2 separate regions of the Homo sapiens genome follow, and region 2 is linked to region 1. The links are contacts of gene promoters, found by promoter capture Hi-C in blood cells and fetal thymus (Javierre and others, 2016). All regions are on one chromosome and are shown on one strand. The core of a region is centred on a gene start or on the middle of the fragment in contact, and the rest is flanking DNA. Distances in the headings are between cores, read along the strand shown. Region 1 holds the start of ARL6IP1 (ARL6 interacting reticulophagy regulator 1). Region 2 overlaps SMG1 (SMG1 nonsense mediated mRNA decay associated PI3K related kinase).

Region 1 (6,798 bases), core at 1,906-4,405:
AGCCTCCCAAAGTGCTGGGATTACAAGCCTGAGCCACTAAGCCGAGCCAAGCCTAGTCTTTTTTTTCTGAATAGCACTAATACCTCAAAAAAGACCCCTAAATTCTCAGAAAAGTAACTATTTTATTCTCAAACATCTGTTGTATTTTTGAATAGCAGTAGAAATTCTACTTCAACGATAAAATTCTTTGTGTTAAGGCCCAATTTATAAAGCTTAATTTTGGCAGTATTTAAAAACAAAATTCCCGTAGATCATTATTGACAGATAGGTGCATTCCTTGGAGTGTGAAACCTCTGAAAAAAAATAGAAAATGTCCAGCTTGGCTTTATATCTTGGAGATTGCATTTGTTGCTGCTAAATGAAGTTAGTAAGATTTGTGTTAACTGCTTAGTCATCTGGCACATTTCAAAAGATCACATCCTGTCTCTGTAGGACAAAAACAAAGCTCTAAAGAAAGCTATGTTAAGGGTGGGTGTTTTTTAATAATTAGACCAATCGGAAATTTAGTGAGAGACCATATAGCAGGGCTGTGCATTTAGAAATAGGTATGGGAATACATTGTTAAGTAACAAAAAATACTAAGTGGAGAAACTGCTGTTTCAGTTGCTTCTGTTTTTTTCACCTACCTTCATTTCACAAGCTGGTGTTAACAAGTCTTAAGTTGTGCATGGAAAACTTGGGTGAAAACAAGAAGCATATTCTGCAGCAAAAGCTGATTTCCCAAAAGTAGAAATGTCAGTTTTAAACCCTAATAAAATACCCTCTCTTTTGGAAGTGGCTATTACTGTGGGTCTAGCAAGATCACATACCCAGTGCTCAACATATTCACTAATTATGTGGCTGCTGATTGCTTCGATCTTTTTGACTTTTTTTTTTTTTTTTTTTTTTGAGACAGGTTTTTTGCTCTGTCACCCAAGCTTAAGTGCATAGGTGCAATCATAGCTCACTGCAGCCTCTATTTCCTGGGCTCAAGGGATCTTCCCTGCCTCCCCATTTGTATTTTTTTTTTTTTAGGGGCGTGGAGAAGAACCTGCTCCTCAGACTCCATAGCTTTAAAATCTCTCCAAATAGCGTCTCTGTCAACTGGCTGTATCCTGCCTTTACAACTTCTTTACCCCAACATTCTCCAAAGTGGCACTTTATTGAACAGTCAGCTTCCCTTGCAAAGACTTTTTTTCAAGTGCTTCTCCCTGATTCAGATACTTCACTCCCCTTTCCCCGAAAGACCCACAGCAAATTGACACCCTTCCATGAAATTCACAATGCTCCTGCCCTTGCCCAGCTCTCTTAGGGGCAGTATGTGGTCTGCAGCTATGTTCTCTCACATTTATGACTTCCTTGAACATTTAAGAACCTGGTGGTTACTTAAGGAACATTTTAAAAATAAATTTAAATTCAATGGCCGAATACAAATGACCATGAGATTGGAAGTTAAAACCTGTAAAAAAGATAAAAGGTTGGAAGTTAAAACTATAGTTAATTCACCTGAAACAAACATCTGATCCGGACATTTGGCATGATTCTGTTTGTATCAAACGATGAAAAATCGGCCGGGCGCGGTGGCTACTGCACTACAGCCTGGGCAACAGAGCCAGGCTGTGTCTCAAGAAAAAAAGAAAAAAAAAAAAAAAAAAAAAAAAAAAAGATCAAAGCACTTGTTACTGCATTTGAAATCCTGGATAGAAAAGATGTACAAGTGCCTCAACACAGTTCCTAAACTGCCTAGGAATTCTACTGCTTGTGAGAGGGTTTACATATTTTCTTAGCTTGACCTCTAATGGAAGAAAGGTCGTGTCAAGAACTATCCTTTTGGCCGGGCGCGGTAGCTCACGCCTGTAATCCCAGCACTTTGGCAGGCTAAGGCGGGCGGATATCTTGAGGTCAGGAGGTCCAGACCACCCTGGCCAAAATAGCGAAACCCCGTCTCTATTAAAATACAAAAATTAGCCGGGCGTAGTGACGGGCGTCTGTAATTCCAGCTACTCGGGAGGCTGACGCGCCAGGATCACTTGAACCCGGGAGATGGAGGTTACAGTGAGCAGAGATCGCGCCACTGCACTTCAGCCGGGGCCACGGAGCGCGAGACTCCTTCGTCTCAAACAAACAAACAAACAATTCTGGCCGGGCGCGGTGGCTCACGCCTGTAATCCTAGCACTTTGGGAGGCCGAGGCGGGCGGATCACGAGGTCAGGAGATCGAGACCATCCTAACACGGTGAAACTACGTCTCTACTAAAAATACAAAAAATTAGCCAGGCGTGTTGGCGGACGCCTGTAGTCCCAGCTACTTGGAAGGCTGAGGCAGGACAATGGCGTGAACCCGGGAGGCAGAGCTTGCAGTGAGCAAGATCGCGCCACTGCACTCCAGGCTGGGCAACATAGCGAGACTCCGTCTCAAAAAAAAAGAAAAAAAAAAAAAGAATCCTTTTGGAGAGGGAGCTTGTAGTTTAAGTAACTTAAACATCCACGTATAATAAAGCCACTTAGAAGGCGGTGCATTTTCACACGTTCTCAAACCAGGCCTGGGTTTTTCCGCGCAAGCTAAGGCCTCATTCCTACTGGGTAGGAGAGAAACATTGCAGCAAAATCCACACAAAGAGCTCTTTTCACTTGTCCTCAAAACCTCACGGGTCGCAAATCCGGGCTAAACGGCTCAGGGGCCTGGCTGGGGAACTGGGCCGAAGGTGGAACGGATCCCAGCCACCTCGGGGCCAGGAAAAGATGAAGTGTCGCAGGCCCGGCGTCCCCGCCCTCCGCCTGAGGCAACGGAGCATCTCTCTTCGAGTAGCCCATTTTCCAGAGAGTCTCCTCGGCTGCGAAAGCCAGACGAAGAGGGACCCAAAGCCACCGCAGCGGCAAGAGCCGGAGAACCACTGAGGGACAGCGCCCCCTGCAGAGGCGGTTGAACCGCTTCCCACAGCGCTGGGCGGGGCGTCGCGCAGTCCCTGGGCGCTGATTGGGCACTCCGTGTCCCCTCCCCCTCGGCCCGGCGCTGCCTCTGTCTCCTTTGACCTCGATTTCAAGCCATGCGCTGAGCTTCGGTTGGCCCGGCTTCCTTGAGGCGTAAGCTCGGTCTGTCCAATGAGGAGCGAGCGTCGCGGGGGCCGTCGGGAAGGGCGGCCGACCCATATAAGCAGCCTGCGGGGCGTTCCCTCGGGTTGTGGTTGGTGTGCGGGTTTCGGTTGGAGGACTCGTTGGGGAGGTGGCCTGCGCTTGTAGAGACTGCATCCCCGAGACGATGGCGGAGGGAGATAATCGCAGCACCAACCTGCTGGTGAGTCCTGGCTGCCTGTCCCCCGGGAGCCGAGCGAGGCCTCCAGACGTCCGTGGGCTCAAACACCGCGGCCTCGTCCCTGTCACCCGCCGCGGGCCCGGCCCTTCTCTCCCTGGGCAGGCGACGATGCCTGGCCCTCGGGCTTCTTGGGTGACTCCTGGGTGTCGAACCCTTACCTTTCCTGGGGACGGTGCGCGACGGGGCGAGGAGGGCGCGTGATTCATCACCGCGAGTAGGAGTCGAGGAGGAAGTGGGAGGCAGAGGGGCTGCGACACTAGCCTGGGGTGCGGGTGGGGGCAGAAGGCCTCCTGGGGCCTGTCCAGCGCTTTCGCGGCTCAGGCCCCAGCCGTATTCGGCTTTCCCCGTCTTTGATCTTAACCTGGATGTGCCTGCCTTCTTTTCCCCCTAAAACTTGGACAAGGGTGGAGGGTCAAAGGGCTACTGCCCAGAATTTATCTTAGAGCTGGTACAACTTAAAACGACAGGGAGGCTGCGAGCTCACCGTGGGGAACCGGGAGCGGGGTCCAGCTGAACAGACAATGGGATGTCTTGGCGTTTGTCTGGAATTTGGAAGTCTGGCGGGGGTGGGGTCACAGGACTACTGGAAACAGCTTTAGAGTAATAAGCAGGGATCCGAAGGAACTGCAGTGAGATGGTATCATAGGCGGACACATTTTTATTTGTTATGAATTTAAGCGCACCTTGTGGGCAAAAAACAAGAGAAATATCCTTGCATATTCTCAGTTGCCCTTCCCTGGTGACTGTAGGTCACATACCAGCAATGAAAAACGGAACCAAAGAATTTACTTAGGGGCTTTTGAACTTCCAAGACCCCAGACGCTGGCCAATGACGTGACTTCAGGGCAGTTTTGATTGTGCGTGATTTTATATTTGCTTTTAGAAATGCATGGTTTGTTCCTTTAAACACACGCTCCTTCTAGCATAGTTAGTTCTCAGCGTGGATCTTTTTAAGAGGATTAATTGAAGCACAGAGAAGTAGCTCAAGCCCTGTTGAAATGACAAATCCTGGGCTAGAGCTCCTGCTTCCCAACTCTCCTTCCAGCAGAGCAATATAACTCTAAGGAAAGCAACGCCTTTGGTCGTGGATTTCTTGGATGCAGATCAGTTAACCTCTGTATCTGTTTCCTCCTTGGTAAAATGGGGACAGTAATAACACCTTTTTTTAAGGGTTGTTAGGAAGATTAATTGAAGTATAAATATGAATGCTCAGCAGAGTGCCCACACATAGTAGTCTCTTTCACTAGTATTAAGCATGGAATATAAAGTCAGAAATATTGAGATCACACTAGTGCTCAGCGTGGCACAGATAGCGAGCGTCTTTGTTAAGATTAAGTGCCTTGTTCTGTCATTTGCATGATTTCCAGTGAATGACTTTTACAAAGAGACAAGGTCTCAGCCCAGGCTGGTCCCGATCTCCTGGGCTCAAGCAATCCCCCCCGACCCGCCAAGTGCTGGGTTTACAGGCGTGATCCACTGCATCCAGCCTGATAACATAGAGACACTTGAGTTTCTTATTCTAAATTTTTCTTCCTTTACCAAAACCAGCTTTAAGGGCTTTTGCCACATTAGCTCATCCTAGAGGCCCACTTTCGGCTGTTCAGAGTCAGAGAAATTTGAAGTATAATCAAAATGACATCCTGAGTGGTAAGAAACACTGTATTGAGGAGGTATATTGACCGTAAAATGCCACCTTAATTTGGTGAAAGTAGTTTTCCTTAATTGTCCAATGAATGTCAACATCTGAGTGATTCCATTACACAAAGAGCTATTTTAGAAATTGAATGCTATTCAGGGAAAGTCTTTCCTAATGGATTTAGAAGGGTTTAAATCAATAAGATGACAAAAACAACGGATCAATTCTAACCATCTGAAATAAACAAACTTAAAAAAAGTTATTTCATTTTATTAATACTCTGGGCACTGCCACGATTCCCCGCATGACTTTGAGAAAGTAAACCATTTTGAGCTCACTTTCTTTAATTGTAAATTGAGTCTAATTATCCCTACCTTGTGGCTCTCTGTAAGGATTAAGTTACATCATGTATATAAAGAATAGCCCAGTGCTTGGACTAGAAAAGTGACCATTAAAGGATATTTAGGCTGGGCCTGGTGGCTCACACCTGTAATCCCAGCACTTTGGGAAGACGAGGTGAGTGGATCACTTGAGGTCCAGAGTTTGAGACCAGCCTGGCCAACATGGTGAAACCCTGTCTCTACAAAAAATTAGTCGGGCGTGGTGGCGGGCGCCTATAGTCCCAACTACTCAGGAGTATGAGGTAGGAGAATCGCTTGAACCCAGGAGGCGGAGGCTGCAGTGAGCCGAGATCTCCCCACTGCACTCCAGCCTGGGTGACAGAGCGAGACTCCGTCTCAAAAAAAAAAACACAAAAAACAAAAAAACCCATTGTATTTTCATCTTTGAAATTGCAGTTTTTCAGAAACCAACTAGTTTAAAATTGGCAATTTGGTTAAGAGGTTATTTTTTGTATTTGGAGCTTTAAAATAATTGAAGTCTATGAACCACAAAAATGTTGAGAGTGGTAAAATGATCACTTTAAATGTCGGTGGTATTTAGGCTGCAGAGACTGCAAGTCTGGAAGAACAGCTGCAAGGATGGGGAGAAGTGATGCTGATGGCTGATAAAGTCCTCCGATGGGAAAGAGCCTGGTTTCCACCTGCCATCATGGGTGTGGTTTCTTTGGTGTTTCTGTAAGTGAGCTATTAGATTACTATGGGTTGTGCTTCTTATTAATAAAGACTTTTTAATATATAGCTTCTGTTTGTGGGAGTGCCTTAAGTCTTCTGTAATATATAACCCATAAAGAACCCATAAAGAATGTTTCTCATAAGCACTTCTAGTTTCCAGAATTTGTAGTACTTCTGTAAACTTGGTAACCTAAAGCACTTGAGTAAATCAGTGACTCGCAAACTTTTTGTCCTCCAGACACTTAAACTCTTTTTTTGTTATTATACTTTAAGTTCTGGGAAACATGTGTAGAATGTACAGGTTTGTTACATAGGTATATATACATGTGCCATGGTGGTTTGCTGCACCCATCAACCCTTCATCTACATTAGGTATTTCTCCTAATGCTATCCCTCCCCTAGTCCCCCACCTCCCTAAACTCTTAAAAAAGTGCTGAGAACTCCAAAGAGCTTTTGTCCATTGATATATACTTAACCACTGCAGCTATGATATCAGCATGTCACAAAGCCTCTGGAAAGCCACTTGTGAGAAAATTAGAAGAAAAATGGCAAATATCTCTGAGAGGCGGTGAATAGTTAAGTGAATAGTTAAGTTAGACATGTTTAGTTAGGAATAATAATGACTATGTTTTTCTAACCTTTATTAATTTTTTTAACAGGATTATCTACTATCTAGATCCATCTGTTCTGTCCGGCGTTTCCTGTTTTGTTATGTTTTTGTGCTTGGCTGACTACCTTGTTCCCATTCTAGCGCCTAGAATTTTTGGCTCCAATAAATGGTAGGTAGCATAATGATTT
Region 2 (6,798 bases), core at 1,958-4,457, 35 kb before region 1:
ATACATGAAATTTAGTTGAGTAATGAGAGAATGCTACTGAAAAATCATTTTTAAAAATTCTACTTTACATACAAAAGGCACTCTTTTTCCTTATATAAAATTGATCTTTTCTTTTTTAAAAAAATTGTTTTTTCTTAAGGCCCAAGATTCCTACCAAACTCCTCAGAATCCTGGAATTGTACCCCGTCCTAGTGAACTTTATTACAGTAAAATTGGCCCTGCTTTGAAAACAGTTGGGCTTAGCCTGGATGTGTCCCGTCGGGATTGGCCTCTTCATGTAATGAAGGCAGTATTGGAAGAGTTAATGGAGGCCACACCCCCGAATCTCCTTGCCAAAGAGCTCTGGTCATCTTGCACAACACCTGATGAATGGTGGAGAGTTACGCAGGTATGTGCTTTGTTTTAGACTATACTCAGTAGTAGTATTTCTTTTGCCTGCTACCTTCTTGCCTATCTTGTTTGTCCTCCTTCCCTTCCTTCCTCTGTCCCTCCAGACTTGGTAGTTTGAGACGTATATTTGAGTTTAATATTACAGTTATAAAGGCATGAACATGACTGTGTCCGAGGGCAGGATGGGGAAAGAGTTATGGAGGAAATGAAAAGGAGATCCTAAGCAAATTAACACAGGAACAGAAAACTGAATACCGCATGTTCTCACTTATAAGTGGGAGCTAAACATTGAGCACACATGGACACAAAGAAGGGAACAACAGACACTGGGGCCTACTTGAGGGTGGGGGGCAGGAGGAGGGTGAGGTAGGAAAAAATACCTGTTGGATACTATGTTCATTACCTGGGTGACAGAATAATGTGTACATCAAACCCCAGTGACATACAATTTACTCACGTAAAGACCTACACATGTCCCTCTAAACCTAAAAGTTAGAAGGAAAAAAATTTTTTTAAATAAAATCAATATTTAAATTTAAAAAAAGAAAGAGGTCAGGCACAGTGGCTCACATCTGTAATCCCAGCACTTTTGGAAGCTGTGGTGGGTGGATCATCTGAGGTCGGGAGTTTGAGACCAGCCTGCCCAACATTGGTTTGGGCAACACTGAACCCCGTTTCAACCAAAAATACAAACAAAACAAAACAAAAAAAAGAATAAAAAATTTAGAAAGGGACAAACTAGGAAGACTGAAGAAAAGTTTGTTTGTTTGTGTTTTTTTTAATCCAGCATCCTGATAGCTGATTAACTAGGACCAATCAGGTCTACAGTGTTGTATGCCTGCATAACCACATGCAGCAACCTTGAGGAATGCTTTTTATTTGTTGATTTATTTTAAAATAAGGGAGTAGGTTAATGGTGCTTTGTAAATTTTATAGTATCACGTCCATGTTGGAGGGAAATTTCTTAATGGTGTTTCACTTGCTGCCCCCATTTCCTTTCCTTTAGTCTTATGCAAGATCTACTGCAGTCATGTCTATGGTTGGATACATAATTGGCCTTGGAGACAGACATCTGGATAATGTTCTTATAGATATGACGACTGGAGAAGTTGTTCACATAGATTACAATGTTTGCTTTGAAAAAGGTAATATAAAAGTAGACTTTACATTTATGAGGGCCAAATGTTTTTTGGTGAAAGGGCAAAAATATAATGATTTGTCTTTTCAAGGTAAAAGCCTTAGAGTTCCTGAGAAAGTACCTTTTCGAATGACACAAAACATTGAAACAGCACTGGGTGTAACTGGAGTAGAAGGTGTATTTAGGCTTTCATGTGAGCAGGTATGCTGTTTTCTCTTCTCCCTTTTAGTGTATTTGTTAAATGAGCAAAACCTGTGGAATGAAAACCACACTTTAGTGATGAAACTTGTGGCAGACCTTATTTTAAAAACTCTCCTGAAAACAGGTTTTACACATTATGCGGCGTGGCAGAGAGACCCTGCTGACGCTGCTGGAGGCCTTTGTGTACGACCCTCTGGTGGACTGGACAGCAGGAGGCGAGGCTGGGTTTGCTGGTGCTGTCTATGGTGGAGGTGGCCAGCAGGCCGAGAGCAAGCAGAGCAAGAGAGAGATGGAGCGAGAGATCACCCGCAGCCTGTTTTCTTCTAGAGTAGCTGAGATTAAGGTGAAGCCCAGTGACGGAATAAGTCATTGTCTTCTTTTTATTAATAGAGTAAACATGCTCATCAAAATGTTGAGGCAAATTGTTTCTCTAATTTTTTTGGCAAAACTAATGTATAATATTGAAATGGCAGTTAAATATGGCAGTTTGATGTTAACTTTTTATTAGGTAATTCTTCCACACAAACATGCACAGTTACATTCCACACTCCTAAGAGGTGGGTTCATGATTTGAAAAAATTATATTTCTTAATTATTGAAATGTGTTTACCAGTGATGACTGTAAATGTTCTTTAATTGGATAGCTTCCCTTCCCTATCTGGTAGCCAGGGATGCCAGTCTTGTTCTGGGTGACATTGGCAACTATTAATACATGGTATTATGAGATTGAGCCTGTCAGTTTATGCCTGTGTAAACTTGAACGCATTAGTTGTTTTTGTACAGTGGAGGCAACGCATCACCCCTTTCGGGTTTTGTAGAGATTTAAGTAGGATGTGCAAAATGTTCTTCTGACACTGTTGTGTCTCAAAATTGGCCCTGTAAGAGTCTTCTTAATCGTAATATCTTTTTACAGGTGAACTGGTTTAAGAATAGAGATGAGATGCTGGTTGTGCTTCCCAAGTTGGACGGTAGCTTAGATGAATACCTAAGCTTGCAAGAGCAACTGACAGATGTGGAAAAACTGCAGGGCAAACTACTGGAGGAAATAGAGTTTCTAGAAGGAGCTGAAGGGGTGGATCATCCTTCTCATACTCTGCAACACAGGTTTAAAACAGTGTTGAATTCTTCTAAATATGTGCCATTAATTAGAATTTTCATATTCATGTAAACATCAATATGGATTAGAATTATTGTAACAAATCACATAAATGATAAAAGCTGTCTCAGTGACTGCAACTTCAAAGTGTTAGTAAACAAAAATTCACTGAAATTGTCTGCTTTTATTATATTTAACTTAAATGTTTGAATGACTAATTATGGGAGATAGGTGGGTGTAGTGGTTAGAACACAAAACTTGGAATCAGAAAATCTGGGTTTTGGTTTTCTCATTACCATTATGTATCTTGAGTCCTTACTCATTTGTACAATGGCAGCTACTTCATCTACCTCACTAAGTATTAAATAAGATGATTAACTGAAAGAACCTTATACACAGCAGGTGCTCAGTAAAAGGGTAGTTGAATATGAAAGTGTCAAGCATTGTGTGAGGCTCTCAGATTACAAAGATCTGTCAAGCATCAGTCTCTAACCTTCAAGGAACCTAAAACTTGGCAGATGTGGCAGTTTTAATTAAAATGTCATGAGCATGGTTGAGGGAATCACAGGGTCAGGAAAAACAGAGAAGTAAGGGACATTTGAGGAGGGCCCTCAAGGTGAACAAGGAGCGTACCAGACAGTCCATGTGTGAGCACATTCCAGGGTAGGAAAGTATGTGGAAGAAAACAGCAATAAATCTTTTGATTTTGTTTGTGTCCCCCTGATTAGGTATTCTGAGCACACCCAACTACAGACTCAGCAAAGAGCTGTTCAGGAAGCAATCCAGGTGAAGCTGAATGAATTTGAACAATGGATAACACATTATCAGGCTGCATTCAATAATTTAGAAGCAACACAGCTTGCAAGCTTGCTTCAAGAGATAAGCACACAAATGGACCTTGGTATGGGTTGACTTATTTTAGATTCACATGTGAAACTATGAGTTTTATAGTCATGTGTGTTTGTGTGGGGTCCTGGTTTGTGCTTGCTTTTAGTGACAGCTGACTTGACCCTGTTTTACTGTGTTTAATAATGTCTTTTACCAAAAGGTCCTCCAAGTTACGTGCCAGCAACAGCCTTTCTGCAGAATGCTGGTCAGGCCCACTTGATTAGCCAGTGCGAGCAGCTGGAGGGGGAGGTTGGTGCTCTCCTGCAGCAGAGGCGCTCCGTGCTCCGTGGCTGTCTGGAGCAACTGCATCACTATGCAACCGTGGCCCTGCAGTATCCGAAGGCCATATTTCAGAAACATCGAATTGAACAGTGGAAGACCTGGATGGAAGAGCTCATCTGTAACACCACAGTAGAGCGTTGTCAAGAGCTCTATAGGAAGTAAGTTGATAGTGCTTAATTTTCTTTTATTTTTGAGACGGAGTCTTGTTCTGTCACCCAGGCTGGAGTGTGGTGGCATGATCTTGGCTCACTGCAACCTCCGTCTCTGAGGTTCAAGCAATTCCTCTGCCTCAGCCTCCAGAGTAGCTGGGACTACAACACCACCAAGCCCGGCTAATTTTTGTCTTTTTAGTACAGACGGGGTTTCACTATATTGGCCAGGCTGGTCTTGAACTCCTGACCACGTGATCTGCCTGCCTGGGCCTCCCAAATTTCTGGGATTACAGGCGTGAGCCACTGCGCCTGGCCAATTGTATTTCTTATTGGGAGTGGAAGCAAAGTTGTATTCTGCAGCCTTGACCTCCCTGGGCTCAGGTGATCCTCCCACTTCAGCCTCCCAAGTAGCTGGGACCACGGGCGTGTGTCACCACGCCTGAACAATTTTTATATTTTTTTGTAGAGATGGAGTTTCGCCGTGTTGCCCAGGCTGGTCTCGAACTCCTGAGCTCAAGCGATCCTCCTGCCTTGGCCTCCCAAAGTGCTAGGATTACAGGTATGAGCCGTGGTGCCTGGCCTCAAATGTTGATTCTGTCACAGTCATCAACAAGTCCTTTTAGGAAATTGCTTAAGCTCTTGAGACATTTTTATCTGTAAAATGTAAATAATGATTTCTACTCTTCAAGTTTTGTTTGAGGATTAAATGCAATATTCTTTTGTATGTTGGGGGTGGTTGTGTTATAAACAAGCACCTCTTCCTTATTTTTATAGATATGAAATGCAATATGCTCCCCAGCCACCCCCAACAGTGTGTCAGTTCATCACTGCCACTGAAATGACCCTGCAGCGATACGCAGCAGACATCAACAGCAGACTTATTAGACAAGTGGAACGCTTGAAACAGGAAGCTGTCACTGTGCCAGTTTGTGAAGATCAGTTGAAAGAAATTGAACGTTGCATTAAAGTTTTCCTTCATGAGAATGGAGAAGAAGGATCTTTGAGTCTAGCAAGTGTTATTATTTCTGCCCTTTGTACCCTTACAAGGTAAGTTAGCCAACTTCATATTGGACCATTTCCTGTGTCTTATTTTTAATCCCAAACCTAAAATGTTCTTTTACTTTCCTTAGTCTTGCCAAGTGTTACAGCTGCTTACTTGCTTTTCAGATTTTAGTTATCTTGGTTGTGTTTTGAGACAGGGTCTCACTCTTGACACTGAGGCTGGAGTGCAGTGGCACGATCTCGGCTCACAGCAACCTCAGCCTCCTTAATAGCTGGGACTACAGGTGTGTGCCACCACACCTGGCTAATTTTTGTATTTTTTGGTAGAGATGGGGTTTTGCCATATTGATCAGGCTGGTCTCGAACTCCTGGCCTGAAGTCATCTACCTGCCTCGGCCTCCCAAAATGCTGGAATTACAGGCATGGCCTTGACCCGGCCAGTTACCTTGTTTTGTTTATACATTTAAGTTTCACTGTACAGATATTTATCTCTTGTAGGCGTAACCTGATGATGGAAGGTGCAGCGTCAAGTGCTGGAGAACAGCTGGTTGATCTGACTTCTCGGGATGGAGCCTGGTTCTTGGAGGAACTCTGCAGTATGAGCGGAAACGTCACCTGCTTGGTTCAGTTACTGAAGCAGTGCCACCTGGTGCCACAGGACTTAGATATCCCGAACCCCATGGAAGCGTCTGAGACAGTTCACTTAGCCAATGGAGTGTATACCTCACTTCAGGTGAACACTTTTATTTTAAATATTAGTTTGTTTTAGATACTGAATATTGTCTTTCTCATCTCTTTAACCCAGGAAAGCAATTTGACTTCCCCATTTGAATGTTGCTCAACCAGTCATTTAAAAGGAAGATAATTGTGAGATTTATAGCTATAACTTGGTTACAGTTGCTCTTTGTTTTTTTGAATTTTTATAGCAGCTTTATTTGTAATAGTCAAAAACTGGAATCAAGTCAAGTGTTCATCAAGCAAATGGACAAATATGGTACATCCACATAATGGAATACTTCTTAGCAATAAAAGTGAACGACACCTTGATAACATACAGCCACATGTATGACTTACAATAATTATGCTGAGTAAAGAAAGCTAGACATTTCTACCCCTATAAATGGAGAGTGTATAATATGAGAAAAAGCAGATCAGTGTTTACTTGGAGATGGAGGAGGTGGTATGGAGAAGTGTGAGTGAGAGAGATTAAGAAGTCAGGAGGAAATTTGTAGGGTAGTCGGTATGCTGATTTTCTTGATTGTGGTGACAGTTTCATGAGTGTATGCAAGTACCAAAGTATAACAAATTATATATTTTAAACATGCAGTTTATTATATGCAAATTATACCTTGATAAGACTTTTTTTTTTTGAAGGGAAATAGAAGCCACTTATAACCAAACCAAAAAGAGAATAACAATGCTAATATCACTACAGAAATATGATTCCTAAAAATTAATAACATTATATAACATACTTTAGGGCAGTTCTTTTTGTTCTTAAGGTACATCATCCTAGGAATGTTTAATTATATGACAACTTTTTAAAGTCATTTGAAATAGTTCCTGAAAAATTTCACATGACTATGAAATAGAATTTGAAAAGAAAATATTTAAAAGTAGAAATAAAAAGTAAACAAAAGATGTACTTA

Evidence for each region. Contacts are between HindIII fragments. The CHiCAGO score rates a contact against its expected background, and 5 or more counts as called.
Region 2: a fragment that was not itself captured here is called in contact with the fragment with the promoter of ARL6IP1 in region 1 in 1 of 17 cell types (activated CD4 T cells); the score reaches 6.5 in activated CD4 T cells.

The regions. Positions count from the first base shown.
Region 1 is chr16:18,797,906-18,804,703 of GRCh38, reverse strand. It overlaps ARL6IP1 (ARL6 interacting reticulophagy regulator 1), which reads left to right and starts at 3,155. Exons shown (of 6, transcript NM_015161.3): 1 at 3,155-3,273; 2 at 5,870-6,003; 3 at 6,660-6,779. The coding sequence starts at 3,238. RefSeq lists enhancers at 2,612-2,851, 3,232-3,311, 3,532-3,651. The HindIII fragment of the contact is 8,806 bases long and covers 920-6,798 here.
Region 2 is chr16:18,833,288-18,840,085 of GRCh38, reverse strand. SMG1 (SMG1 nonsense mediated mRNA decay associated PI3K related kinase) reads left to right here. Exons shown (of 63, transcript NM_015092.5): 42 at 140-388; 43 at 1,397-1,535; 44 at 1,620-1,729; 45 at 1,854-2,072; 46 at 2,643-2,833; 47 at 3,554-3,726; 48 at 3,874-4,153; 49 at 4,922-5,194; 50 at 5,648-5,882. Among named protein-coding and RNA genes, the nearest start is that of ARL6IP1, 35 kb to the right of the region's middle. The HindIII fragment of the contact is 972 bases long and covers 2,722-3,693 here.